Linked DNA regions of Homo sapiens: regions 2, 3, 4 and 5 are each linked to region 1. The links are contacts of gene promoters, found by promoter capture Hi-C in blood cells and fetal thymus (Javierre and others, 2016). All regions are on one chromosome and are shown on one strand. The core of a region is centred on a gene start or on the middle of the fragment in contact, and the rest is flanking DNA. Distances in the headings are between cores, read along the strand shown.

The links. The method cuts DNA at HindIII sites, captures the fragments that hold promoters and counts their contacts. A CHiCAGO score of 5 or more calls a contact.
Region 2: a fragment that was not itself captured here is called in contact with the fragment with the promoter of TIPARP in region 1 in 2 of 17 cell types (total B cells and naive B cells); the score reaches 15.6 in total B cells.
Region 3: a contact is called between a fragment that was not itself captured here and the fragment with the promoter of TIPARP in region 1, in 2 of 17 cell types (naive B cells and total B cells). The highest score is 8.7, in naive B cells.
Region 4: a contact is called between a fragment that was not itself captured here and the fragment with the promoter of TIPARP in region 1, in 2 of 17 cell types (total B cells and naive B cells). The highest score is 11.6, in total B cells.
Region 5: a fragment that was not itself captured here is called in contact with the fragment with the promoter of TIPARP in region 1 in 1 of 17 cell types (total B cells); the score reaches 6.2 in total B cells.

What each region holds. Positions count from the first base shown.
Region 1 is chr3:156,672,878-156,678,133 of GRCh38, forward strand. TIPARP (TCDD inducible poly(ADP-ribose) polymerase) reads left to right here and starts at 1,713. Exons shown (of 6, transcript NM_015508.5): 1 at 1,713-1,919; 2 at 4,780-5,256. The coding sequence starts at 4,821. It overlaps TIPARP-AS1 (TIPARP antisense RNA 1), which reads right to left and starts at 2,836. Exons shown (of 1, transcript NR_027954.1): 1 at 294-2,836. RefSeq lists an enhancer at 1,209-1,508 and silencers at 1,919-1,968, 1,999-2,068, 2,439-2,798. The HindIII fragment of the contact is 8,735 bases long and covers 1-3,366 here.
Region 2 is chr3:157,021,889-157,027,144 of GRCh38, forward strand. LEKR1 (leucine, glutamate and lysine rich 1) reads left to right here. Exons shown (of 13, transcript NM_001004316.3): 11 at 2,872-3,036. Among named protein-coding and RNA genes, the nearest start is that of LINC02029, 57 kb to the right of the region's middle. The HindIII fragment of the contact is 206 bases long and covers 2,604-2,809 here.
Region 3 is chr3:156,991,753-156,997,008 of GRCh38, forward strand. It overlaps LEKR1 (leucine, glutamate and lysine rich 1), which reads left to right. Exons shown (of 13, transcript NM_001004316.3): 8 at 901-978; 9 at 1,322-1,525. Among named protein-coding and RNA genes, the nearest start is that of LINC02029, 87 kb to the right of the region's middle. The HindIII fragment of the contact is 3,776 bases long and covers 1,110-4,885 here.
Region 4 is chr3:156,974,267-156,979,522 of GRCh38, forward strand. LEKR1 (leucine, glutamate and lysine rich 1) reads left to right here. Exons shown (of 13, transcript NM_001004316.3): 7 at 4,928-5,009. It also overlaps the pseudogene KLF3P2. Among named protein-coding and RNA genes, the nearest start is that of LINC02029, 100 kb to the right of the region's middle. RefSeq lists an enhancer at 4,379-4,508. The HindIII fragment of the contact is 343 bases long and covers 1,919-2,261 here.
Region 5 is chr3:156,947,266-156,952,521 of GRCh38, forward strand. The region is part of intron 6 of LEKR1 (leucine, glutamate and lysine rich 1); the gene reads left to right. Among named protein-coding and RNA genes, the nearest start is that of LEKR1, 120 kb to the left of the region's middle. The HindIII fragment of the contact is 5,967 bases long and covers 1-5,256 here.

The DNA of each region.
Region 1 (5,256 bases), core at 463-2,962:
AGAAAAACCAAGGTATGTAGCTAACAGCCTTCTTTCTGTTCCAGCATCCTTAGCTCGTGGCTTCCATGTCCATATTTTCCACATCATGTTCACTTCATTTTTGTCATGAAACTCCATCTCCATCCTTAAGTCCCAAGACTTATGACCCTAGTTAAGCCATTCCAGCCAGGCCCCAGTATGCCCACGCTAATTGAAGCCCCAGACATCATGGAGCAGAAATGAGCCACCTGTACTATGCCCTGACTGAATTCCTGTGCCAGAGAATTCAGAATCATGAGTAAATAAAAGAGCCATTGTTTTAAGTCATTATATTTTGGGGGTGGTTTGAACACAGCAATAAATAACTGAAATACTACTAAAAGCATAAAGAATGTATAACAACCTAATTGTTACAAGGGAGTGGAATTAATAATCTACAAGAAGGCACAAAAGGACAGAAAAGAAACAGAACAAATGAGAAAAATAGAAAGCCAACAGTAATATGGTAAACTCAAATATTAGCTTCTAGGCAATTCTATGTATGAGTAGACACTGACCAAGATCTTGTCTCAATAAGATTTTAAATGTAAAGATTTTCATCTTTTACCTATTGTCCTCTGAATTCCGCCCATATCATTCTCACCTTAGTTTAATGGCCCTGCCTTGATGCAATTTGAAATAAGCTGCTAAGGAGATAACACCCTTAATCTATTCATTGCTGGTGCGCTTACCCAGTCTGGTTTAGAACCGTTTAACAAAGGCTTAGAATCATAATGTCTATGATTATTACCTCTTAGCTCCTAGTTTTACTGACTTCCATGTCTGGAATTACCAGCACTTCTTTTTCGTACATATGGATTATATGAACTAAATGTATTGTTTCTTCCCTCACTACTGAAAATCTATTCAATATATGGAGTTACAATTCAAAGTATTTTACAACCCAGAAAATATGGCCATTCCGTATGTGGTGTGTATTTCAGAGGTGCTCTGCAAGCTCCATGAGGACAGGCGTGAAGTTCAGGCTACATGCCTGGTACGTAATAGACGCTCTGACAGACATTTGCTGAATGAATAAGTTAGTCACTACGGCGTTTGTGGGCTTTAAAACACAAGTAAATGCGCTTCTATCGCCAAAACCTCACAGCTTCCCTTCTGCAAGGTGGCGTACAAGGCCCACGAAATAGTCGGCCGCCGCAGGTGCGCAGCCTGTCCAGCCTGTCCGGCTCGGGGCAGGCGACCTCGTCTGGTGGCAGTGGGGGAGGCAGCCGTTTGCTTCCTCACAGGGTGTGCCGGAATCAGAGGCTGGAGGCGTCTGGGGAGTAGGCAAATAAACAAAGCCAACCGCACCGAAACGGGTCGTTCCGTTTCACATCCTCCCTCGGGTGTCTGGGTCTTCTCGGAACAAAGTGACCCTCCATCTGTCCGCAGGCAGGTGGAGCCCGTCCCACGCGGCACGCGCCTTCCTTCCTCACAGCCGCGTGTAGACGCGGACCCTCAGGGACACTGCGGACGCGAGAAAGGACACGCCCCCTCGCGGGAGCATAAGTCCACCGCACAGAACTCGCGCGCCTCCCCTCGAACGAACGCGCACGCGCGCGCAGGGGGCGGGTCTTCTTCCCGACACCCACTGAGCGCCCGGCCTCCTCACCCCACCCCACCGAACTCCGGCCGCCCAGGCTCCGCCTCCGCGACGGGCCGTCGGGAGGAGGCGACCGGAAGCCACTTAAAGCAGAGATCGAGGTGACAGGCGAGCTGGCTGGACTCGGAGCGCGGTCGAGGCTTTCTGCGTTCGCGGCGGCGGAATGGCCCGTGCGCGGCTCGCCGCGTCGCGGCTCTGTGGTCCCTAGACGTCGGCTCCCGCCCTCGGCGCTGATCTCCGGCGCGGGCACTGCTTTCCACTCGGCTCCTGTCGTCCGTTCTCTCAGGCTCCCGTTCAGGTAAAGGGCTCCGGGAGGGCACTGAGGGGCTGAAGAACCCTAGCGGGGAGTGCGAGCGCCGGCCTCGCGGCTCCGGCCCCGGCCCCGGCCCCGCGCCGGCAGTGTGCGGGGCTCTCGCGGATCGGGGTGATTGATTTTGAGACTGCCCTTTGTACCGAATTCACTCGGGTCCCGTCAGCATGAAGATGGAATTGGTTTACACTTCTTAGGCACTTAGAGCCTGTGGCAGGTGTATACATCAGACCGAGGCGCCGAAGGATTTAGTTGGGGTCGCAGGCGCCTGCCCCTTCCCCGTTCGTCAGGGTGGGGGCGCGTCTATGCGGCCTCCCCCGCGGGCCGACCCCGGGTGCTCTGAGGCGCCTAGGAGCCCTTCCCAGACCCCGGGGGGGAGGGCACGGCAGCTACGGGAGCCTTCCGGCTACCCCGCGTTTCGGGCTGCAGCCCAGAAGTTTGGAAGATGTTTTCACATTAACTTTGAGAGCGCACAAGTCTTCGTCTTCCTCCCCGCCGCCGCGGGAAGCGCTCGCCGCCTTTCCCCCGCGCTTCGCGGCTCAGTTCTGCGAGCCCCCAAGACCCGTTGGACGCTCCTCGGGAGGTGAGCTGAGGGGGTAAAGAAGAATTAGAGAGAGAAGGCGCCGCGAGTAGTCTCTGGGATGCAGGGAGGCCGGGGCGGGTCGTTGGTCCGAAGGAGGCTGGACAGGAGTTGGGGGGCGCCCAGGCGCCTGCTGAGGGGAAGGCGGGGGCGGGGACGCCCGGGAACACCCGGAATTGCAGAGCCGGGCGGCGCCTCAGCTGCACTGCGCGGAGTTGGCGCGGCCCGGGACCAGGAGCTGAGCAAACCGCCGCGGCCAACAGGAGGCGTCACTCGGACCCGGGCTCGGCGCCGGGGTGTCGCGCGGCGGCGGGCGGGCAGGCTTTGGAGCGGCAGTTTTTTCGGAAAGTGCTTTTGGCCGGGAGTGCCGCAGAACCCCAGCGTCACGAGGTGAGGGGTGTCGCGGTGTGTCGCCTGCCGCTGGAGACCGGAGGATGTGTTCTTCTCATCTTTATTTTTCTGTTATGAAAACTAATTGAGGAGCTAGGTTCTAGTGGCTTTCCCCCTCCAGCCACTTCTCCAGTTCTCTGCTTCTTCCTCCCAGTTTTGTTTCCGAGTTTGATGAAAGGGCAATAATAGGAAAAGTTGCGCGCGCGCGCTTGCGTGTGTACGCGCAGACACACATATAAATAAAATCGATTTAGTGTCTATTTTACCTTGATTGGGTTTGATAGGAGTGGTTAGAGAGTGTGCGCGTGGGGAAAGCACAGGCCGGTTTGGTATGGTGGAGAGGGAATACCACAATCTGTGCCAATTGTGCCTTGAGGCAATAACACCAAATGATGAATAATAACGCCTGGCTTGGCTCCTTTCCAGTTGATTTATGTCTCATGTCAGATCCCTCCTTCTTCGTGAAGCTTTCCCTAACAATGCCAGCTTACAGTGAACTCTCCTTTTTCTGCCTTTTCCTTTTGTACTTATCATGTAAATTTAATACTTCGTTATAAACTGCTTTGTATTTTACTTTTCTGAATTTGATGGACTTCTTACACATAGATTTATGACTCTCCAATTAAATTTTTAATATTCACTTTTGGGGACACTCAGTTTTACCTTTTGTTGTTGACCCACAAACAACAAAGAACTAAGCATTTAATATGTGCTTTTCTTAACTAATTCAGCCAACAAAATATATATGGAACACCAGCTGTGTGCATTGTGGTAGCTAGGCACTTTATTGGGCACCTAGGATGCATATTTGATTAAGTCATGGGACCTTGCGTCACAGATCTCTTTCAGTTTATTGGACAAGAGAGAAGAGGATTAATTGCTCATCACCATTCCTTTCTCACCTGGCACAATCTCAGTAAATGTTTTCAAATTTCAGTTTTTTTCAAGGGGTCTGATTCTTGGAAGAAAGGACTTTTTCGTCTCTTTCAGTAGTTGATTAGGAATCTGAAATTTGGTGTGTGTTTTATATTTTTTTTTTATTTTTCTATAGTATGCCTTCATTTGCTCTTTAAAAATGTATGTATGTAACTTTTCTGAAGGCAAGAACTAGGAGGCTTTTTCTGTGTTACCAAGTTGTGCTTGTCTTCTGACACATCGTGCAGTGGTTGTTGCTAATGGGGCTTCTGTTACTAAACACACCCTTGTATTCCATCAGAAGCGGTAATGTTTTTGGGGGTTGTAAAAGTAGACTCTTAACATTCTTGGATAGTATATTAGAGCTTTCTGAATATAGAAATGCTTAACAGACTCCTGGCTTTCTCCCATAGAACATTTCAATTGAGAGCCCCTGTTACTTGTGTATGTTCTTATACCCTTAAATTGACTCACTGTTTTAAGTTTGAAGTTTATCTTTCATTTGATGAACTTTTAAAGAAACTTTTTGTCAACTCATGAGATAGGTGATACATAAACAACTATAAAGAGAACCGCAAAGCTGAGTGGAAATGTGGTTTCCCTGCTGTCATCATCTAGATACAGTTATTTCTACCTCCCATTTCCCACCCCACTCTAACCTTATAGTAGAAATTCTTAACCTAGCAGAATTGCAAACTCTTATGTATTCAGTCCACAAATGCATGCCAATGGCCTGTTGAAAGACTCTTCTACTTTTACCTGCTGTGTGCTTTTGAATAGCCTTGGGTGCTTTGGAGCCTTAATTTCTCGATAAAATTTAAAATTGACTTGTAAAAACTAAATATAGTATAAGAGGAATGGTTTCAGGGAATCAGTCAGGACAAAAACAAAACATTTTAATGAATGAATGAAATCCAGTTGCTGTCAGTTTGTAAATGATCATCTTCCTTCCTTTCCTCGTAGGATTTTTAGACTCTGAGGAGCAGTTGGAGCTAATCCACATTATGGAAATGGAAACCACCGAACCTGAGCCAGACTGTGTAGTGCAGCCTCCCTCTCCTCCTGATGACTTTTCATGCCAAATGAGACTCTCTGAGAAGATCACTCCATTGAAGACTTGTTTTAAGAAAAAGGATCAGAAAAGATTGGGAACTGGAACCCTGAGGTCTTTGAGGCCAATATTAAACACTCTTCTAGAATCTGGCTCACTTGATGGGGTTTTTAGATCTAGGAACCAGAGTACAGATGAGAACAGCTTACATGAACCTATGATGAAGAAAGCCATGGAAATCAATTCATCATGCCCACCAGCAGAAAATAATATGTCTGTTCTGATTCCTGATAGGACAAATGTTGGGGACCAGATACCGGAAGCCCATCCTTCCACTGAAGCTCCAGAACGAGTGGTTCCAATCCAAGATCACAGCTTTCCATCAGAAA
Region 2 (5,256 bases), core at 1,457-3,956, 350 kb after region 1:
AATGGAATGTTATTGATTATTAACTTTTATATTAATATTATACCTTCCAATTTTTCCAAATGTATTACATTTGGTTTCTCCTTTCATATATTCTTGACTTATCTATGCCAGAGTGGCCAAAGCACAGTGATCAAATGAGAAAAGTAGTGGAAGTCAGACTGGAGGAATCCAGGACTGCCACCATACACAGTGTTTAAGTTGCACCCTGCAACAGGCCAAGGCAGCAAAGCGAGATGGAATCTAGCCTGTACTCTGCTCATCAAGTCCTATGACTGGCATGAGACTGTTTTCATCTAAGGATGGGGTGCTTTGTCAGTTTACACAAAGGTGTCATATGGGCTAGTAGTCGCCCCGTAAAAGGCCATATACAGGAGTTTTGATATATTAATGCACTGAGAAACCACGAAGAAGGAATAAAAAAATCTAATTTATAGTTTGTAAAGAATACTGTGCTGTGTGTAGTAGCATGGGTTGGAGTGAAGCAGGAGTGAAAGTAAGGAGGCTGTTCAGGAAGTGATGGTGGCCAGAACTAGGTGATCAGGAAGTGCTGATGAAAGTTGAGACATAGAGAAATGGATGCAAAGCATCTTTTGAAGGTAAAATGAATAGGATTTTGTGTTGGATTGGGTGGGGAGGGTAAAGGAGAGAGGTATGAAAGATGATGTTCCAGTCACTAACTTGAGTAACTAGATGGATGGTAGAGCTGTGTCCTGAAATAAGAGGGAGAAACAGGCTTTGGGAAGAGTGTTGTTACAAGATTTCTGGGCCATACAATTCATTGGAGGCACCTGTGAATTATCTAAATGGCTACCAGGAGGCAAAGTGGATTTAAGTACCTGAAATTCAGAGGAATATCTTCTTTTTTTCTGAGTGCCCCCTGAGACTTCCTTTGTCTTCAGCAGTCTGAGAGCAGCCCATCTGAATAATTCTGTAATTCTGTAATGTTGCTAATAAATCATCAGTAGCCTATTATCCCAAACAATCCAGAAGTTTATTTTGAAAGAGCCAAAATAACTCTTTGCATTCAGTACTGTATAAACATAATTACATTCCCTTAAGGCAGATGCTTAGTCCTATACCCAGTACAATAAAACCAATTGACCCCACACTGGGGCTAGTCTTCCATCAGTATTTTATTTAATGTAAAGGGCTTCCTTTAACTTTCTTAGCAATATTTGTGTCCTTGTACCCTGGCTTCATTGTTCTCTTGAGAAATTTAGGTTGACCTCTTTCCCTGTCTTGGTGGCCTAAATCACACAGTCACCATCAGTTGTGAGTTTTTCTCCCAATTTACCTGGCTTTACCCTCTCTTAGAGTTTATAATCCTGGCACAGTATAAATCTAGAGCCAGACTGTCACTGGGATTTCCTTTTCCAGTCTCTCTAGATGAACTCCCAGGAGTAAATGACTCCAGTTCTAATAGATTTCTTCTCTTTCTTGTTTCAGTAGGCAGAGCCAAAACCAATGGTTAAAAACCACATGGAGAGAGATGTTGGCTCAACTACAGGAAAAACTGCCTAATGCTTAGTGCTGTCTGAAAATGGAAATGCCTTCTGGGGAAGGAGTGAGTTATGGTTTCTGGAGGTGTGAGGCACCCAGCAGTCAGTCATTTAGTATGGAGTCAGTAGTAGAGACTGAAGGGTCAGAGTGTGGAAGTACTCTCCACTGACTGTTAAATTCCTACTCATGTTAGAGCTTTACACAGAAGCTTTGCCTCCTTTAATCCTCATAACAGCCCCTAAGGGAACTCGTTATAACCCTACCAGGAAGGGTTACAGTCACAAACTTAAGATCACTCAGTTAGGAAGTAGCAGAGCCAGGATTAAGAGCCAGGATTTAAACTCAACTTCATCTGCATCTAGAGTTCTTGCTTATTCTTTCCACAATTCATGGAAACATGAGAGATTGAATTAGGAGATTTCTAAGGTCCCTTCTAGCATTATGATTCTATCTGAGTCAAAGTATGGATACAGATGCTCTTCACCTTTCAGTGGGGTTACATCCTGATAAACCCATCATAAATTGAAGGTATTGTAAGTCAAAAATGGGTAATCTGTAGACATGATGGAATGTGAAAACACAATATCTAAAAAATACTGGCAACACAGTACATACACTGTACAGTATCAGCTGTTTGCCCTCATGATCACATGGATGACTGGGAGCTGTGGCCCACTGACACTGCCTAACATCCCAAGAGAGTATCATACTTCATATCAACGGCCCAGGAAAAGATCAGAATTCAAAAGTTGAAGTATAGTCTCTACTGAAAACGCATATTGCTTTCTCTCCATTATAAAATCGAAAAATCATAAGTCGAACCATTGCAAGTTGGGGACCATCTGTACGGACATTACTGACTCTTTTCCTTTAATCATCCTTCCCACTTTAGTCACATTAAAATGACAATCTGTGACTTCAAAACTTCTATGACCTCCATCAAGAAAGGGCCACTTGAAAAATCAACATTTGTCCTTTGTGTTCCCTCTGAGTTTTAAGCAGAACTTAGTCTAAGGCCCTCAAAATCTGCTTAAAAACAAAAACTTCAATTTTCTGAGTTGCTGGCAAGGACTGAGTTCACAGTATAAATGAGCAAGTAATTAAGCTTTTAGTATTTCTGAAAACTGTCATATAGTTGTAACTCCTCTACTAATTTTTCAGGTCTTAGAAGGTGGTGGAATATTTGGCACAAGGTCAATTTTTCTGGCCCAAGTTCTAAGTCACACTTTTTTTTGAACACTAGAATTTTTAAAATAGTTTAATTAAAAATTTAATGTCAGAACATTTTAAAACTTAGAGTTTGAAAATAAGCTTAATGTACTTATTTTAAGGTAAAAATAGTTTTACATGTGCTTTAAATGCCATTTCTAGATTGAAGCAGAACTTGCCAAGGAAAGGGCCCAACACTTGGTTGAATTTGAAGAGCAAGCTCTTCTCTTTAAGGAAGAAACAAAATTGCAACTTGATATTGAAAAAGAAAAACACCAAGATGTAATCCAAAAGTATAAGAAAGAACAAGAGGAACTACAAATGAAGGTCTGTAATTATGATGTTCATCATTATTTAATAGATTTGAAACTGCAGATGTTGTATATTTCGCCTTAGAACACTACAGTATTTATAATTCCAGTAGCTTTCACTCATGGTCACTGTGTCTTGGTTTTAGCTATGCAGGTAAGACGGTTTGGCTAATTCTCCAGAATGGATAACTGAGATAAGTTATACAAGCATGTAATCCAGCTATGTATGGATTTTTTCTACTGGAATAAACTTATTTTTTAAACATCATAAATTATATGACTAAAAATTAGTACGGCTAGATATTTCAACACCTCAAATATCCAACATTGAAAGATAATGAGGTGTTTTATATAATTAAAATTTTCCCAACCACTAAAGCATATACCCTTTAATTGCAAATATTTTTCATTCTCAACATTTCTGAATGAAGAGAAATATTTTTAAAATGTAATTACACCTCCCTAAATTTCTTAAACAGTATGTTCTAAATACTAAAGGTTTTGTTAAGGTTTTCCTGTTTTTATAGGACTTGAGTGTAGAGTGTGTATGTGTGTGTGTGTGTGTATGTGTATTAATCAAGACCTAGTGGGGAAATAACATTTTGAATACATGCATTAAGAGTCTGTGTTAATTAAGCATCAGACAAGACCTAATGGCTTCTACATTTGTGTACAGGAGGTATGGTACATCCATTTCAGTAGTCCATTGTGAACAACAGGCAGCACCAGCTACATGTGTACAACCAGTGCAATAGCACATGGTCCCACACTCAGAAAGGCTTCATGCTTTGGATTTATTGCTTTGCAGATACTACCTTGAAATTCTTAATAATCTAACTGGGCATGGTGGCTCATGCCTATAATCCTAGCACTTTGAGAGGCCCAAGCAAGAGGATCACTTGAGGCCAGGAATTCAATACCAGCCTGGACAACATAGCAAGACTGTCTCTATTAAAAAAAAAAAAGACTTAATTAGCCTAGTGTGACGGTTCATACCTGTAGTATGTTCATACCAGTGTATACCCTGGCTACTTGGGAGGCTGATACAAGAGGTTCACTTGAACCCAGGAGTTCAAAGCTTCTGTGAGCTATGATCATACCATTGCACTCCAGACTGGGCAACAAAGTGAGACTCCTTCTCTAAAAGAAAAAAAAAAATCTTAGTGATTTTATCTTTGAACTTCTGTTTTGTAAGTGAAATCCTACTGTGGCAATGGAGCATGTGCCACAAGCTTAGAGCCTTGGCTCCCCCAAGGTTCTGCCTCCCCTAGAGGGTTCTCACCTCTTGCTTCCTGGCTCCTGATGCCCCAGGCTCCACCGAGTCTCCCCCTTTCTTCTTCCTCTCACTCTGTGACTGCTGTTGCAGCCCTGGGTGGTTCAGGATCCCATCAGCAGGAGAATGCAGACAGGCAAGCTGGAACTTGCCAAATGTTACAGTTTCTTAAGAGAAGTCATAAATCCTGATTTTTAAATCAAGATTTTGTAAGTGAAACCTCCTGATCTTTAAATGTTGACTGCCTTTTAAAAAATAAAAACATATTTGTGGTTATGTGAACCTCCTCTCCCAAAGATACTTTCAGTGTCAGCTCTCCTCTGGGTGATGAAAACCACTGTGCAGACCTGACAGTGGCCTTCTTCCCTCTTGGATTAATTGAAGATAATAGAATATTAATTTATAAAATTATGAACTATGGTGAAGAGACTTCTCACACAAGTTATTCTTTCTGTAAATTTAACATTTGAAACAAATTTTGGATACATAACTCTTTTTATGTAACAGTTCACAAAGTCCTTGGAACCTTGGTCTGTGAATGTTTTCCAGATTCTTAGTGGGCTAGTTTCTTGTTGTGCTAATATTTATAACATGACAATAATTGAGCATAAGTAATAAAGATATGTTTCATTAGAAGCAGCTCTTGTTTCGTTGTTTTGTTTCTTAAGGAGAAAGAAAACAAGAGGACTTTTCCCTTCTAAAGACTTTCATGCCATCAGGAAAAGCTTCTCCAAGTTATTCTCTCATTCATTTATCTAGAGGAACCACCTTGAGAAGCAATACATTTTCAGAATATTCAAGTGTTTTCTACAACTGTGCTGTCCGTCATGATAGCCACATGTGGCTGCAAAAGTTTCCATTAAATTAATTAAAATTAAATACAATTTAAATTCAGTTCCTTGGTCACATTAGTCATATTTCAGGTGCTCAATAGTCAATACTCTTTTTTGAGAGCTATGGTTA
Region 3 (5,256 bases), core at 1,748-4,247, 320 kb after region 1:
AAAGTGAATAATTACTTCTTCAAAAATCTTTGTCTGCTCATTTCAATATCTGGGTCATCTCAGAGTCAGTTCCTATTAACTGTCTTTCTCTTTAGAATGAGTAACACTTTTCTGAATACTTTTTTACTATGTTCTGGACATTGTGAACATTATGTTATAGAGAGTCTGGATTCTGCTATATTTCTCCAAAAAATATTGTTGTCGTTGTTATTGTTGAGAGTGGTGAAGTGGTGTTGCTTCACCTCAAATGGCAATCTCTGTCCAGGATAACAGCTCAATCTCAGTTCAGTTCTTTTTCTTTAACTAGGCTGCTTGGAATATGCTTAATACATGTGTAGTTCAGGGGCAGAATTTATGTGGAGTATTTGGGACTCTCTTTCTCCGGCTCTCGCCTCTTCAGCATCCTTTCTTTACTTTCCAACAGCTGTGGTTGCCCCAAATACCATGGCCTCTGGTTCTATGGGCCAGAAAGACTGACGATTTCTCTAAGAGTTTTAGTTCCCCTGCAGGGTGCTGACTGGGGGCTGCCCTCAGGCTTAAAATTATTTTTAATAGCCCAACCCCATGCTGTCACCTCATTCCAACTGTCAACTTTCCTCCAGAATCTCCCTGCTTTTAGTCACTTTCCAATACCTTCACATAGGTATTTTGGGTTTTGGTTTTGTTTATTTGTTTTTGTTTTTTAGTGTTGTGCAGTTTATACTTTTTATTTACATGCAAATCAGTCTGACAGAAGCTTTGTTGGCCAGTATAGAAGTAAACTGAATGTTTATTTCTTTAAACAAATAATAATATGAAGATGTTAAGAAATTTCTTCTATTGATGAGTAAAATAATGCTACAGAAAAACATATACTTTATTTTGAAATAATATATTTTAACTTCTTTTGTATTATTTTAGGAATAAATCTAATGAAGCTGATGACTGTCAAAGAGAACTTAAAAAACTGAAGTTTGAATCCATTATTTCTGAGTCACAGTATGCATTACCAATTTTTAAATTTATATTTTTAATAATTGAACTTAAAACTGTATTTAAGTAACATTTTATTTAAAAGGCACTTATCATTTTTTATTTTCTTATTGTTTACATATAAAATACCTAATTCAAGCTTATATTATCTTGCAGTTGGTTATTGCTGTTGCCACTGCCTAGATGGGAAAATATTAACATTATAGAACCATTCTTTTTTTAAAATTTTTAATTTTTTAAAGTTACAGTTATAATCTATAATTTCAAATGAGCTCTTGATACATCTTTGGTAAATATAAAATGTAGTATATAATGTATGTTGGTGGGTGTTTTTCCTATTTCTTTTTAGGCATACTATGCTGCTTAAGGAAAAAGAAGACTCTTTAATGACTTGTCAACAGATATATAAAGCATTACAGGAAGAGCTGACTGTGAAAGAAAAGCAAGAAGAAGACATAAAGAGAAGAATTAACCTTGCAGAAAATGAACTGGAGATAACCAAAACTCTTCTGAATCAGACAAGGGAAGAGGTTTTAACACTGAAAAATGAAAGGTGCAGTAAACAATAATTTCTTACAAAAACATTTTATGTTTAAGTTAGTATTCCATATATATTTGCAACATCAGTGTCTGACATATTATAACAATAGTGAAATCACAGGACTAAAGATATATTTCTCCTACAAGGTCATTGCATCCCACCACCTCATTTTACAAGTGATTAGACTGAAGCTCCAGTTGGTTACATGACTTGGTAAAGTTGCAGTTGGTGAAAGTAGGAATGAAGCCCAAGTTGCATTTGGTGTCAAATTCTTCTTGAAAAAAAAAAAAATCAGACCACGTGTGATACTTGTACTACTAAATTTCACCTGGGTCAGTGATTGGTAGATTCTATCATTTTTCCAACAGAAAAGATCTTTTTATATCACTTTTTCCTTCTATTGGCTCCTACTTTTCTTCTCTCCTCCTTGTCTGTCAGCACATCTTGTTGGAGGATATGGCACAAGCAAAGATACCTCCTTAGGTGGTATCGAGGATACTAAGAAGTACATTGGTCCAGGCTTCCAAGATACTTTTGTTTAGTTAATTTGTGTTTAACCTTATCTGTAATTAATATTTCAACCTTACTTTCTTTCTTTTTGTTTTCATTTGCCTGCTATGTCTTTGCTCATTCTTTCTGAATCCTTTTGTTTTAAATGCATATCTGATATATAGCACAAATCTTAGGGTTTTTTTGTTTCATTGATTTAAAAATCTGGGCTTCTTTAAGAGATTATTTCATTTACATTTACTGATATAATTATTATATTAACTAAGAACACAAGTTTCATAAGGGCAGGAATTTTTGTTTTCTATCATTTTCTGTGCACAGAAGGCACATGATAGGTTATTTGTTTTTCATTCTTCCTATCATTTTTATATTTTAGTTTATATTTTATTTTATGAATATAATTTAGAAGAGTTACAATCTTTTTTTTCTTTGAGTCCTCCTTTGCAAACCTGTTTGCTGAGTCTGGGGGTGGGGACCAGGGTAGTGGGTAGCAGTTATCTTAGAATTAGATTTTTTTGTCTCAGAACTCTTTCTTGCCAACACTGTTCCCTGGGCACCAAATCTGTTTCTACACCAGGCAAGCAGGAAGTCTGTGTAGTTCATAGGGAAACAAGGCTTATCTCTCGTCCGTCCTGGGATGATTTTATAATTACTTATATTTTATTGAATAAGATTAGCAACTGCAGAGCTGATATCCCCCCACCATTTACTCTTCACCCTTCAACACCGAAAATGTACCCTCTACTTAACTGACTATTCCACCCCACCTCCTCTGCCATTTATTAGAAGCTGCAATTTTATAACAATGAAATGTATAAGAGCCAGGCTTATTAATAAAAAAAGGAATGATAGTTGAAAGATTCAGCATGTGTAAGCAGAGATAAAACCTATATATGCTAACGTATATAGTCAGAAAGATTAAAATCAGTTATGTATTCTATACAAAAGACACACATCATACATCTTTGAAAAGACACCATGGAATAAATACAAATTTTCAAAGTATTTGGTTTAGAACTTTGGTTATCTGAGCAGTGCCTATATTACCCAGAATATCATATTTCCAATGGTGCCAGATTAATTAGGCTTAATTGTTTAGTCAGATGAATGCTGTCTCCTTCACTGAAGTCATTGAGAAGAACCTGTCTTTGTCTAATTGTTTCTGGAACTCTTCTCCAAGGACTGGCTTAAGCACATGTTTTAGACTCTCGTCAGTATGACAGATCTTTATCCTTTAGGAATACACTGAATATTTGAAACAGTCTCAGATAGGTCCAGTGAAAATAAGTCCAGTGAATATGATGGGAAATCAACCTGGGAAATACTATTGGGGATCAAAAATAAAGTAAATTTTTCCCCTTTTTCTATGCTTAATAAATTATCTCTGACTGCAGTTTGAAGAGGGGAGTTTTATGAATGCTTTGAGGATTAGTAACCTCAGTAGAATATATATATAGCTTTCTTGGGGAATTGCTTTGAAATAGCATTCACTTGGATGTATATGTTTTGCCATGTTTTTAAAAAAATTATTATGACTATAATCTTACCCTCTAAATGTTGAATGAGAAGGACAGTTTCTATCAGCTTTCAGAGAATAGTGACATCACTGACCTAACTCCTATTCTTCTTCTTTTCCTTTCTTTTTTTTCTTGTATTATTGCCCTTGTACTTTCTTTATTCTCTCTGCTTTAGTCTATCCAGAATATACATGTACTTAGTAATTGGTGACACTAAGTTTACAGACATGATGTCTGTCACATAATAAAAATAAAAATGACAGACACGGTGGCTCACACCTGTAAGCCCAGCATTTTGGGAGGCCAAGGCAGGCAGATCACTTGAGGCCAGCAGTTTAAGACTAGCCTGGCCAAAATGGCAAAACCCCATCTCTACTAAAACTACCAAAATTAGCCGGGCATGGGGGCTCATGCCTATAATCCCAGCTACTCAGGAGGCTGAGGCACAAGAATCACTTGAACCTGGGAGGCAAAGATTGAAGTCAGCTGAGATCACGCCATTGTCCAGCCTGGGCAACAGAGTGAGACTCTGTCTCAAAATAAATAAATAAATAAATTTTTTAAAAATGTCCTTGTAGACCAGTAGGTTATCATGTGATCACAGGGTTACTCCTAAACATAAGCGTTGCCTTCTTCTTTTTTCTAGGCTACTTTCAGATTTTGTCTGCCTTGTCCTCTAACTGCCCAGAGCCTGCCACACATATCCACTCAATAAATATTTGTTGCATGAGTGAATGAATGAATGGATCACTTTGGGTAATTCAGCCAGTCTGTCAATTATTTGTTGGGCATTTATTATATGCCAGGTACTATGTACCCTGGGTACATAGTACATAGCTTATATTTTAAGGGTAGAGACAAACAGTAAAACAAAAAAATAGAGAACTGACTAGAATAATTATAAATTGTGATAATGGATATGAAGTAGTAAAAATTGATAGAAGAGGTGCCTGCTTTGGCTAGGGTGGTCATAAAAGTGACTTCGAAGATGATACTCTGCCCATTTCCTAAAGGAAGACAAGTGGAAGTTACCAGGCCAAGAGCCAGGGAGGAACTTTTACAAGCAAAAGACAAGTTGGTGAGTTCTGGGAAAGGACAGCAGGGTAGCGTGGCTAGTGGCATAGTAAGTGTGAGTGATGCAGGCAGGGTCACATCATGCAGGGCCTTGCAGGCCTTTGGGAGTTTGGGTGCTGTTTTCAGTGCAATGAAGAGAAACCATTGAAGGTATTTAAGCAGAAGAGTGACACTGTAGAAAAATCATTCTGGATGCTGGACGGAGAAGGTATTGGCAATGGGAGCAAGTCAGGACATTTACTGTTTTGATAAAGGATTTTATAGGTAGTGAAGCTTAAGAGATATGAGAAATATGAGGATCTCCAGCTCCTACACCCTGTCAGTTTCTGTTGGGTTAAGTGTCTATGTCAAGTGGGTAGTAGTAAAATAGCCATGGCTTACTCCATGGTGAGCCTAAGGGTTAAAAAGATCTTCTCATTCGGGCATGGTGGTTCATGCCTGTGATTCCAGCACTCTGGGAGGCCAAGGTGGATGGATCATCTAAGGTCAGTGGTTCGCGAACAGCCTGGCCAACATAGTGAAACCCCGTCTCTTCTAAAAATACAAAAATTAGCTGAGTGTGGTGGCGGGTGCCTGTAATCCCAGCTACTTGGGAGGCTGAGGCAGGAGAATCGTCTGAACCTGGGAGGCGGAGGTTGCAGT
Region 4 (5,256 bases), core at 840-3,339, 300 kb after region 1:
AGAGTCAAAATGAGACTTGTAGTTTAACTTGATTTGTGTAATTTTTAAAACACCTTCAAAACGAATAATTTTTTCACATGTTAAGATGCAGGTTAGAAGGTATACATTAAATTCACAAGCATAAATGCTCTCTAGAATGGATCATTCCCAAATGAAAATGAACATCTCAGTTTCACCCATATTAAAAACGAAACAAAACTGACAACGCTCCTTGTTACCATATTCACCTCCAGCTGCAATTCAGTTTTTCTGCTCCCTATTCATGGAATCAAATGGGGTGTCTTTAATTGCTGTTTCAAACATTATCTCCTCCCCACTACCCTCCAAAAAGCTTTCTTGCCCTTTTTTGTTTGTTTTCTTTTGTACCTTGGGCACATAGAACAGAGTTGATTAGACTCTGTAGTACAAAACATGCTATCATCCTTGACCCGTGCCAGCAACGCCCCCCTCTAATTAATATACCTATAAATTTTTCTAACAGAAAAATAGAATAATACAACATGTATGTGTTCCCATCATCCATAGTTAACAAGTTTTAAAATTTTGCCATAGTTGCACTATAGATTGTTAAAGAAGAAAAAGACAATTAACACTTCCATTTTTACTCCTCCCCATACAAAGATAGCTACTGGTGACACCAGGTCCAAGTGCAAAAACAGCATATCCTCAAGGTGAGAAGTGATGAGATTCAGGGCAGAAGTGGAAGAGTAGCCTTCATGCCACCACCAATGATAATAGCTAACATGTGCGTGTTACTCCCAATGTGCCTGCAACTATTCCCCTTCTTTACATACATTAAGTAATTTAATTATCAGAACAGTCCTGTATGATAGTGACTATTTTACAGATAATGAAACTGGAGTTAACAGTTAACAGGAAGCAGAGCCAGGATTTGAAATTAGGCAGTCTGGCACTCTAAAGAGCTCCTGCATGACACCTTTAAACTATCCTGTCACAGACAAGTGTTGAGTTCTTGTTTTTCCTTGTCTTCAATTACCTATACAATAAAAAAGTACAGCCTTCTATTTTACATTAAAAAAAAAATTTCCCTGATCTCTGGGTGCCAGTTCATCTGCCTGCTTGTTCTTCCATTATGCTACTTTAACCTGGAATCATTTTCCTCCACATAGCACTTTGAACCAGATTTTTAAATGTTTTGCGTTTCCTTTATCCAGTAAGTTTTAAGCTTGAAATAACTTTCCACTATATAGGTTTTAGTTACTGTTTTCTCAAACATTATACTAACTTAATGTGCCCTCCAAGTGACTATGAAGTTTTATATCAGCCTATAAAATAGCTAATTATGAATACCTTTTATATTTGTAGTTTCTAGAAACCTGTAGGGATAGCAGGATTCTCTTAAATGACTGATTATCCCAAATCTGATGCCTGTGTAATGCTATCCAGCAAACAGCTGGCTTCATATGAAGAGAGGTTAAGAACTCTTTCTGTCTTGTTCATTTAAAATCATTTACTTCTTATTTAATATCTGCAAAGAACACAGTCACATCATAGTAGAATTTACTGTTGTAAATTTTTTATTGTTTCCATGGGTTCTGCCTTACATCTGCATGGTGTTTAAAGCCAATGCTTCCTTTATTTTTGTAGGCATTTAGGGCCTTGTTCCTCATAATCCAATGTCATGCTGAGTGACAGAAAATTAAAGTCGAATTTCTTTAACTATAGAGAAGGACTGGGCAGAACAATAATACACTTATTTAACAACTCCTTGCCTCAGAAACTGAAGGAGCTGTTTTGTGCAGGTGGCTTAATCTCTCTGCAGCTTATCCTAATGGTGTTTCTTTATTTATTAAGGACAGGAACTGGGCACTCTGCTTCTAAAAACAAAAGGACCAGACTAGTCTACCAGAACCTATAGTGAACTAGTAGGATGTTTATATTTCATTCAGAAGAGCAAAGCTTTGAATTAGCTGCCATTTTTACTGTCTATTATTCTACTAATTCTCAGGTAATTGAGAATTAACTGCATAAAATTACATATCAAGTACCAGTTCTTTGAAGTTCATTTTAAGATAAGTCTTCCTTTTAATTTATAGCTGCATTTAGAAGTAATAACATAAAATTTATCATATGGGCTCAGACCTATGCTTCATCTAGTTTAGGATCATATCCTGACAAAAGCACCAGGGGCCATTTAATAGTAAGGTGTGATTGTTCTCTCTGATGAAATCTTCTCATGGAATCAGTCACAGTAACACCATAATTTTATTAATATTTTTATTAACTATAATATATATTTAAGCTTTCTAAAACTAAAATCTAAACCACCTTTTGGAGTTAGAAATTCTACCAGTTTACTGCATATTTCATTGTTAAGTAATTCTTTTCATTTGTCTTAAGTATACCTCTTTAAGGATTCTGGGAATATGGTAACAGATTTGTAGCCACACTTACCACACTCTTATGGACAATATCATATTCTCTTGCAGCTTTTATATCTCAAGAGTTTATATTTCAAGTGTGAGAGATATAAGAACTTTAGGATCAGGCAGACCTGAGTTTGAATTATAGGATCTAACTAGCTGAGTGACCTTGATAAGTTAATTACTCTAATCCTTAGAGTTTTCTTGGTAGTTGTGACTATACATGAAATTATATGAAATCAATAAAACCTAACAAGTATGGGTCATCTACTCTACACCATTACCTAATAAGTTTTTTCAGACCCGGGAAGGCTTATTGCATGGAATACAGATGGAGCCAGTGGACCTCACAGTAAACAAGTGGAGTTCACCCGTTTGGCTGGGAATTCTTCCTCTCTGAAGTTCCCATCCTTGAACTGGAGAGCCTCTCCAGAGCTGAGCATGCCTTCTTCCAGCCCATGATGAAAAATACTCACTCTCTTCTCTGGGCATGCAGCCCTTTGGCGTGCCACTCTCCATGCCACCGGTGATGGCAGCTGCCTTCTCCTGGCACAGAATACAGAGCCTAGGGATCCTGCCTGGTGGTGGTATGGTCTGTCCCCTTTATGTAAATGAGTTACCTCCAGCAGCCTCTCATTGTTTCCTTGTTGGAGGAAATGGAGAATTCAAATAGTAGCATGCAAGTACCTGTAATTGAATCATATAAGAAGCCTATAGCATAGGAAAAAAAATTGAACCTGTGATCAAACAACAGAGGACAGATTATTATCCTGAAGAAATGTCACCCCCCCTTAATGAACTCAGTGCCCACCCCTTGCAACAAGCATTGTTGCAAGAGAATCTCCCTTAGGTCATAGTGCAGCCTGGGAAGAGACCTTTACTGATGGAATTGGTGGATAACTCAAAGGAAGCAGAGGATACACAGATGTGATTATGACATATGCAACAAAGTATACACTAAAAGTTTCCACGTGAAATCATACAGAAGAACACACACAGGAGATAAACCCTACAAATGTACATGGGATGGATGCATATGGAAGTTTGCTCTGTCTGATAAATAAGACATTTCTGAAAACATACTGGAGTCAAATCTTTTTGGTGCCTGGACTGTAACCACAGCTTCTGTTCTGACCATCTTGCCTTCTACAGGAAACGCCACATGCTAGTCTGAATGCCTTTGTCTCCCACCTCAACATGACTCCCTACTCACCTGGCTCTTTCTCTATACTCCCACCATTATCTATCACACTTTTTACATGTACATTTTAATTTTGATTCAGCTGGTCTGATCCTCTGAATTTATATCATCCAAAACTTCCATATGGTCAGTAGCAGGTACTCTCTAATCCTCCCTCTCCTTACCATGGGTGACCTAAAAAATGAGAACTTTTTTTAGAGATGCTAAGCAAACTATTCTTAGAGATAGATAAAGTTAATGTAATAAGAACAAGAAAACATGTAAACTAAGAAACAAAAATTAATGTATGTAAAAGCACTGGATAAACAAAGGTTTATACAAATGTCTGGTAAATGCTAATTAAAACATTTGTTTAGAGTGAATTTATTTTCTAATTTAAGGAACTAACTCTTTGTAAAATAAAGTTAAGAATGCCGATTTATATAGTTTTATGTATTTATATGGATGCATAAAGATTTTAAAGTTTACTATTAAAATATGTCACTGAAACACCTGAACAGATGGAACATAGAAATTTTACAACTCCAGTGTTTTGAACATTTTTTTTCTGGAGACACCAACCAGTCTATCAGTTTGTTTTCCATTATAACTTATTCTCAAAAAGCGTACCAGCAAGGGCTGTCACTGGGGCTGGGGTTCAGATCACAGTTTCCACACACAGGACAATGGAAGGACTTAGATAATTCAAGCCATTTGTTCTTTCTGCTATGGTTTCAGTTCTGCATTCACACACTTGTTAGACAGGGCTGCTTGAATAATAATCCTCAAATACTGCTTACATTCTCCAGTTAAAGACTCTATGGAAGCCAGTTTCCTGCTTGTATTCTCTTGGTTTTGAAAGTCACTAAAATGCCTTTTAGATGCTACCCAGAGTTAACACGTTCTTTACTATGAGCCTGGAACATGATTTGTCTGTTTTAGTTCTAGCAGGAAGACTCAGCCATGCTTCACAGTTCCAGACCACAAAAGTGAGCTCAGGCAATCATGTGTTTTAGAAACAAGACACGTGATCAGAAATTCTTATGTTTGTCAGCTACATACATTTCCTTTGAAAACATTAGTAAAATTTAGCCTATTAGCTGTTTGAAAATCAGCATGGTGGTGGGGGCAGAAAGAGGCCAACAAATTGGGCCTGTCAAAACCCATTAAGTCTGTGGGGTGTTAGGATAGGGAGGGCTGAGTAGGCAATGATAAGTTGCATATGGACATACAGGCAAAGTGGAATAAGCAGCTGCCTTATTCTTCAGGAGCTGACTAGCAACAAAAGAATATGGTTTACTCTATGAAAATATCTGGACACTTAAAATGTACTAATCAGATGAAATACATTGTGTCATTTCAGATTTACAATGTCTAGTAGAGGCACTTGGATTAAAACTTCAGAAGGCGGTGACAGAGATGGACAACTATAAAGAAATGCTTATGTAAGATGGAGAATATTAAACAACTTATAACAGTGCTCTGTAGATGTGTTACAAAATGGCAAGAATTAGGAAGAAATGACAAGAATTATAAAGACCCTGGTGTGTTCTCTGTGATTCTTTTGGCAGTGATTTACTGGTGTGGGTAATAGTTTACTGCTGCTTTTCTTGCCCACTTTACTGGCCTAGATTATATATTGAAGAACCTGTAAATATTTTTAAATACATGGAGGATTTCTTTCTCTCAATA
Region 5 (5,256 bases), core at 1,673-4,172, 280 kb after region 1:
GCTGGATCCCATAGGTTTTGCTATGTTGGTGCAAGATATAGTGGTCCAGATTTACTCTTTTCCAATTGTATCAGTATTATGTATTAAATAATTTATCCTTTTCTCACTACATAGAACTACTATCTGTTGTATGTTAAAATTTTAATATATACAGATGCTCCTTTACTTACAGTGGGGTTATGTCCCAATAAACCCATCCTAACTTGAAAATATTGTAAGTAAAAAAATGCATTTAATGCTGGCAACACAGCAGATGATCCCACCTTACCATGATTCAACTTACAAATTTTTGACTTTACTGTGGCATTAAAGCAATATGCATTCAATAGAAACCAGAACCCCGTCGTAATTGGTAAGGAGCCTCTCAACTCATGATGGGGTTACATCCTGACAAACCCATCATAAAGTCAAAAAATCATATTGAACCATAAGTCAGGAACTGTCTGTACTAGCAACTATTACTATATTCTGTCTTCTGTTCCACTAATTTATTTGACGCACCATTAATATTACATTGATTTGAATATGACTTATTAGCATATTCTTTCAGGTGCTAAGCCCTTTCTGTCTCCACCATTCTTACTTTTTAAATACATATTTGCAGACAGTTAGTCTTTCATTTTAACTTTAATATAATTTTATTTACCTCTAATCCACAGGCTCCAAGAATTACCTAGTAAAAGTTTTTCTCTCTCTACTCATTACATCTTTCCCACATATTCAAAGGAAGTTATTCTTCCACATAAACTTTAAGATGATTTCATTCACCTCTAATGCCAACAAGGATTCTAATTTGAATTGCATTATATTTATAAACTAAGTTTTAGAAAATTAAAAATTTTGGTAATATTGTCTTTTGAATATTGTAAGTCTTTTCATTCAAAAATATGGTATGCTCTTTCATTTTTAATGCTATTATATGTTCTTTAATAAGATGTAATAGTTTTACTTAAATATGTTTCTTTGCCATTCTTGTTAAATTTGTTACTGTCAGTTTTGCCTCTACCATAAATAGACTATTTTTCCTATTTCAATTTTTGTTGATAGAGTAGACAAAAGCTATTTATTTTTATATATTTGTTTTATATCCATGCACCTCACAAAATTCTCATATTAATTCTACAGTAGACATTTTTTATTAGTGACTCTTGGGCCTACAACTTCCCAAAAGAGTTCATCTATTTTTTCCCAGTGTTTATATCTGTTATTTTATTTTCTTGTCTCCTTCATATCTTATTAAATTCATCTGAAGCTCTGACACTCTGTTAAATAATAATGCTGACAGTGAACGTTCAATCTGTCATTGATGGGCACTTAGGTTGATTCCATGTCTTTGCTATTGTGAATAGTGCTGCTATAAACATTTGCATGCATGTGTCTTTGTGGTAGAATGCTTTATATTCCTCTGGGTATATACCCAATTATGGGATTACTGGGTCAAATGGTAGTTCTGCTTTTAGCTCCTTGAGGAATTGCCATATGGCTTTCCACAATGTTGAACTAATTTACACTCCCAGCAAGTGTATAAGTGTGTCCTTTTCTCTGCAAACTCACCAGCATCTGTTACTTTTTGACTTTTTAATAATAGCCATTCTGACTGGTGTGAGGTGATATCTCATTGGCACTTGATTTGCATTTCTGTAATAATCAGTGATAGTGAACTTTTTTTTCCTATTTGGCCTCATGTATGTCTTCTTTTGAGAAGTGTCTGTTCATGATCTTTGCCCACTTTTTAATGGGCTTGTTTGGGTTTTTTTCTTGTAAATTTAGGGTACTTTTAGATCCTTGATAATAGACCTTTGTCTGCTGCATACTTTGCAAATTTTGTCTCCCATTCTGTAAGTTGTCTGTTTACTCTGTCGATAGTTTCTTTTGGTGTGCAGAAGTTCTTAAGTTTAATTAGATCCTATTTGTCAGTTTTTGCCTTTGTTGCAATTGCTTATGGTGTCTTTGTTACTAAATCTTTGCCCATTCCTATGTCCAGAATGGTAATTCCCTAGGTTGTCTTCCAGGGTTTTTATAGTTTTGGGTTTTACATTCAAGTCTTTAATACATCTTGAGTTGATTTCTATATATGGTATAAGGAAGGGGTCTAGTTTCAGTATTCTGCATATGGCTAGCCAGTTATCCCAGCACCGTTTACTGAATAGGGAGTCTTTTTCCATTGCTTGTTTTTGTCAGCTTTATCAAAGATCAGATTGTTGTAGGTTTGCGTTTTTATTTCTGTGCTCTCTATTCTGGTCCATTGGTCTGTGTGCCTGTTTTCGTACCAGTACCATGCTGTTCTTTTGGCTTCAATATTTACTAGCTGTGTTATTTTGCATAAGTTAAACTCCTCTGGGCCTTAGTTTCTTTATTTACAAAATGGGTATAATAACAGTCCCGACCTTCTAGGGTTTTCACAAGGATTTTACAAGAATTCTCAAGTAGAGAATTGTATTTTACTTCATATTTCAAAGGAACATTTAGTAAGACTTGATCACATACTCAGCATAAAGAAAAGCTGTTTGTTTCAGTTTACTCACATTTAGTTAAAAATTGCTACATCAGTTTTCATAATAGAAATAGGCCTTTATTTCTTTATTTTAATATCTTTGTCAGATTGTGGTTACAGGTCACTATGGCCTTGTAGAATGAGTTGGGAAATATACTTTAATTTTTGGCTCTTTCTAAAACATTGTATAAAATTAAGATTCTCTGTTTCTTGAAAGTTTGGTAGAATTTGCTTAGAAAACCATCTGGCCATATCTTTGTGGGAAGACACTGCTTCAATTTATTTAATAGTTACAGAACCTTTTGATTTTGTTGAGTCAATCTTAGTAACATATATTTTTGTATTAATATATCCATTTCACCCAAGATTTCAAAGCTGTTGGCATGAGGTTGTTCAGAGCATTATTTTCTTATTATTTCTTCTTCTTTATTTGTAGTTACTGCCCCTTTTTCATTTCTTATATTGTTTTGATTACTACAGCCTGGTAGTATAGTTTGAAGTTGGATAATGTGATGCCTGCAGCTTTGTTCTTTTTGCTTAGGATTTCCTTGGCTATTCTGGCTCTTTTTTGATTCCATATGAATTTTTAAATAATTTTTTCTAGTTTTATGAAAAATGTCATTGATAGTTTGATAGGAATAGCATTGAATCTGTAAATTGCTTTGGGCAGTATGGCCATTTTACTGATATTGATTCTTCCAATCCATGAGCATGGGATGTTCTTCTATTTCTTTTTGTCATCTCTAATTTCTTTGGGCAGTTTGTAATTCTCATTGTAGAGACCTTTCATCTTCCTAGTTAGCTGTATTCCTATGTATTTTATTCCTAGGAATTTTGTGTGTGTGTGTGTATGTGTGTGTGAGTATGTAAATTGTAAATGGGATTGTGTTCCTGATATGGCTTTTGGCTTGGCTGTTGTTGGTGTATAGGAATGCTAGTGATTGTACATTGATTTTGTATCCTGAAACTTTGCTAAAGCTGTTTATCAACTCAAGGAACTTTTGTGTCAAGACTGAGGAGTTTTCTGGATATAGAAACATGTCATCTGCAAACAGAGATGGTTTGAGTTCTTCTTAACCTATTTGAATGCCTTTTATTTCTTTCTCTTGCCTGATTGCTCTGGCTTAGGACTTCCAATGCTATATCGAGTAGGAGTGGTGAAAGAGGGCATCCTTGTCTTGTTCTGGTTTTCAAGGGAATACTTCCAGCTTTTGCCCATTCAATATGATGTTGGTTTTGGGTTTGGCATAGACAGCTCTTATTTTGAGGTCTATTCCTTCAATACTTAGTTTATTGAAAGTTTTTCACATAAAGGGAGGTTGAATTTTATCAAAAGCCTTTTCTGCATCTATTGAGATAATCATGTGGTTTTTTTCTTTAGTTCTATTTATGTGATTAATCACATTTATTGATTTGCATATGTTGAACCAGCCTTGCATCACAAGGATGAAGCCTACTTTATCACGACGTGTTAGCTTCTTGATGTGCTGCTGAATTTGGTTTGCAAGTATTTTGTTAAGGATTTTTGCATTGATGTTCATCATGGATATTGGCCTGAATTTTTTTGTGTGTGTGTCTCTGCCAGGTCTTGGTATCAGGATGATGCTGACCTCATAAAATGAGTTGGGAAGTTCTTCCTCCTCGATTCTTTGGAATAGTTTCACTACGAATGGTTCCACTTCTTCTTTGTACCTCTGGTAGAATTCAGCTGTGAATCCATCAGCTCCTGGGGTTTTTTTTTGGTTGGTAGACTGTTTATTACTGATTTAATTTCTGATGTTGTTATTGGTCTGTTCTGGGAATCAATTTGTTCCTGGTTCAGTATTAGGAGGGTGTATGTGTCCAGGTATGTATGCATCTCTTCTAGGTTTTCTAGTTTGTGTGCATAGAGGTATTTGTAGTAGTTTCTGATGGTTGTTTTTATTTCTATGGGGTTAGTGGTAACATTTTCTTCTTCATTTCTAATTGGGTGTATTTGGATCTTCTCTCTTCCTTATTAGTCTAGCTAGTGGCCTATCTTATTAACTTTTTCGAAAAACCTACTTCTGGATTCATTGATCTTTTGAATGTTTTTGTGTGTCTTTATTTCCTTCCATTCAGCTCTGATTTTGGTTATTTCTTGTATTTTGCTAGCTTTGGGGTTGATTTGCTCTTTAATAGCTTAGAATTGTGAGATTCTAATGCTTCAAATAATTTTTTACTATTGGGTATAGTATAAGGAATGAACAAATCAATTTTTCATCTTTGAGTGTATGAAAGTTGTATTCAAATGAATTACTTGTACTTGTCACTTGAAATAGTCAAAATGATATATAGGGTTTTGATTTTATGAACTAGAAAAAGTAGGGAATTGATGTGGCAAGCTCTATTTAAAGATACACTCTTGCATTCTTGAGAAAACTGAAATTCTTCTCATATATCCTGGATTTTCCTCTCGACCTGGAATAGCTGCTGATGGGATGGCCCCAGGAGTTGTAGATTCCTGGAGACTTTTTAGAACTAGAAGCTATTTTTAGCTAAATGGAGGCACATCGAAACCATGTGAGAGTAGTAGCAACAAAAATGCATTTTTGGAATTTATTATACCAGGAGCTGTTAATGCTGACAATATAAATACTTGTGAAATTCTTTAATGTATAAATGATAGATTCTCATGAAAACTGTGAAGTTTTGGAGTTTAGCTTTGATCTTTTTTCCTTCAAAAACGCTGTCAAAGCTAAATATTTCAAATATTTATAAGATCAATAAAAAACGAAACTACT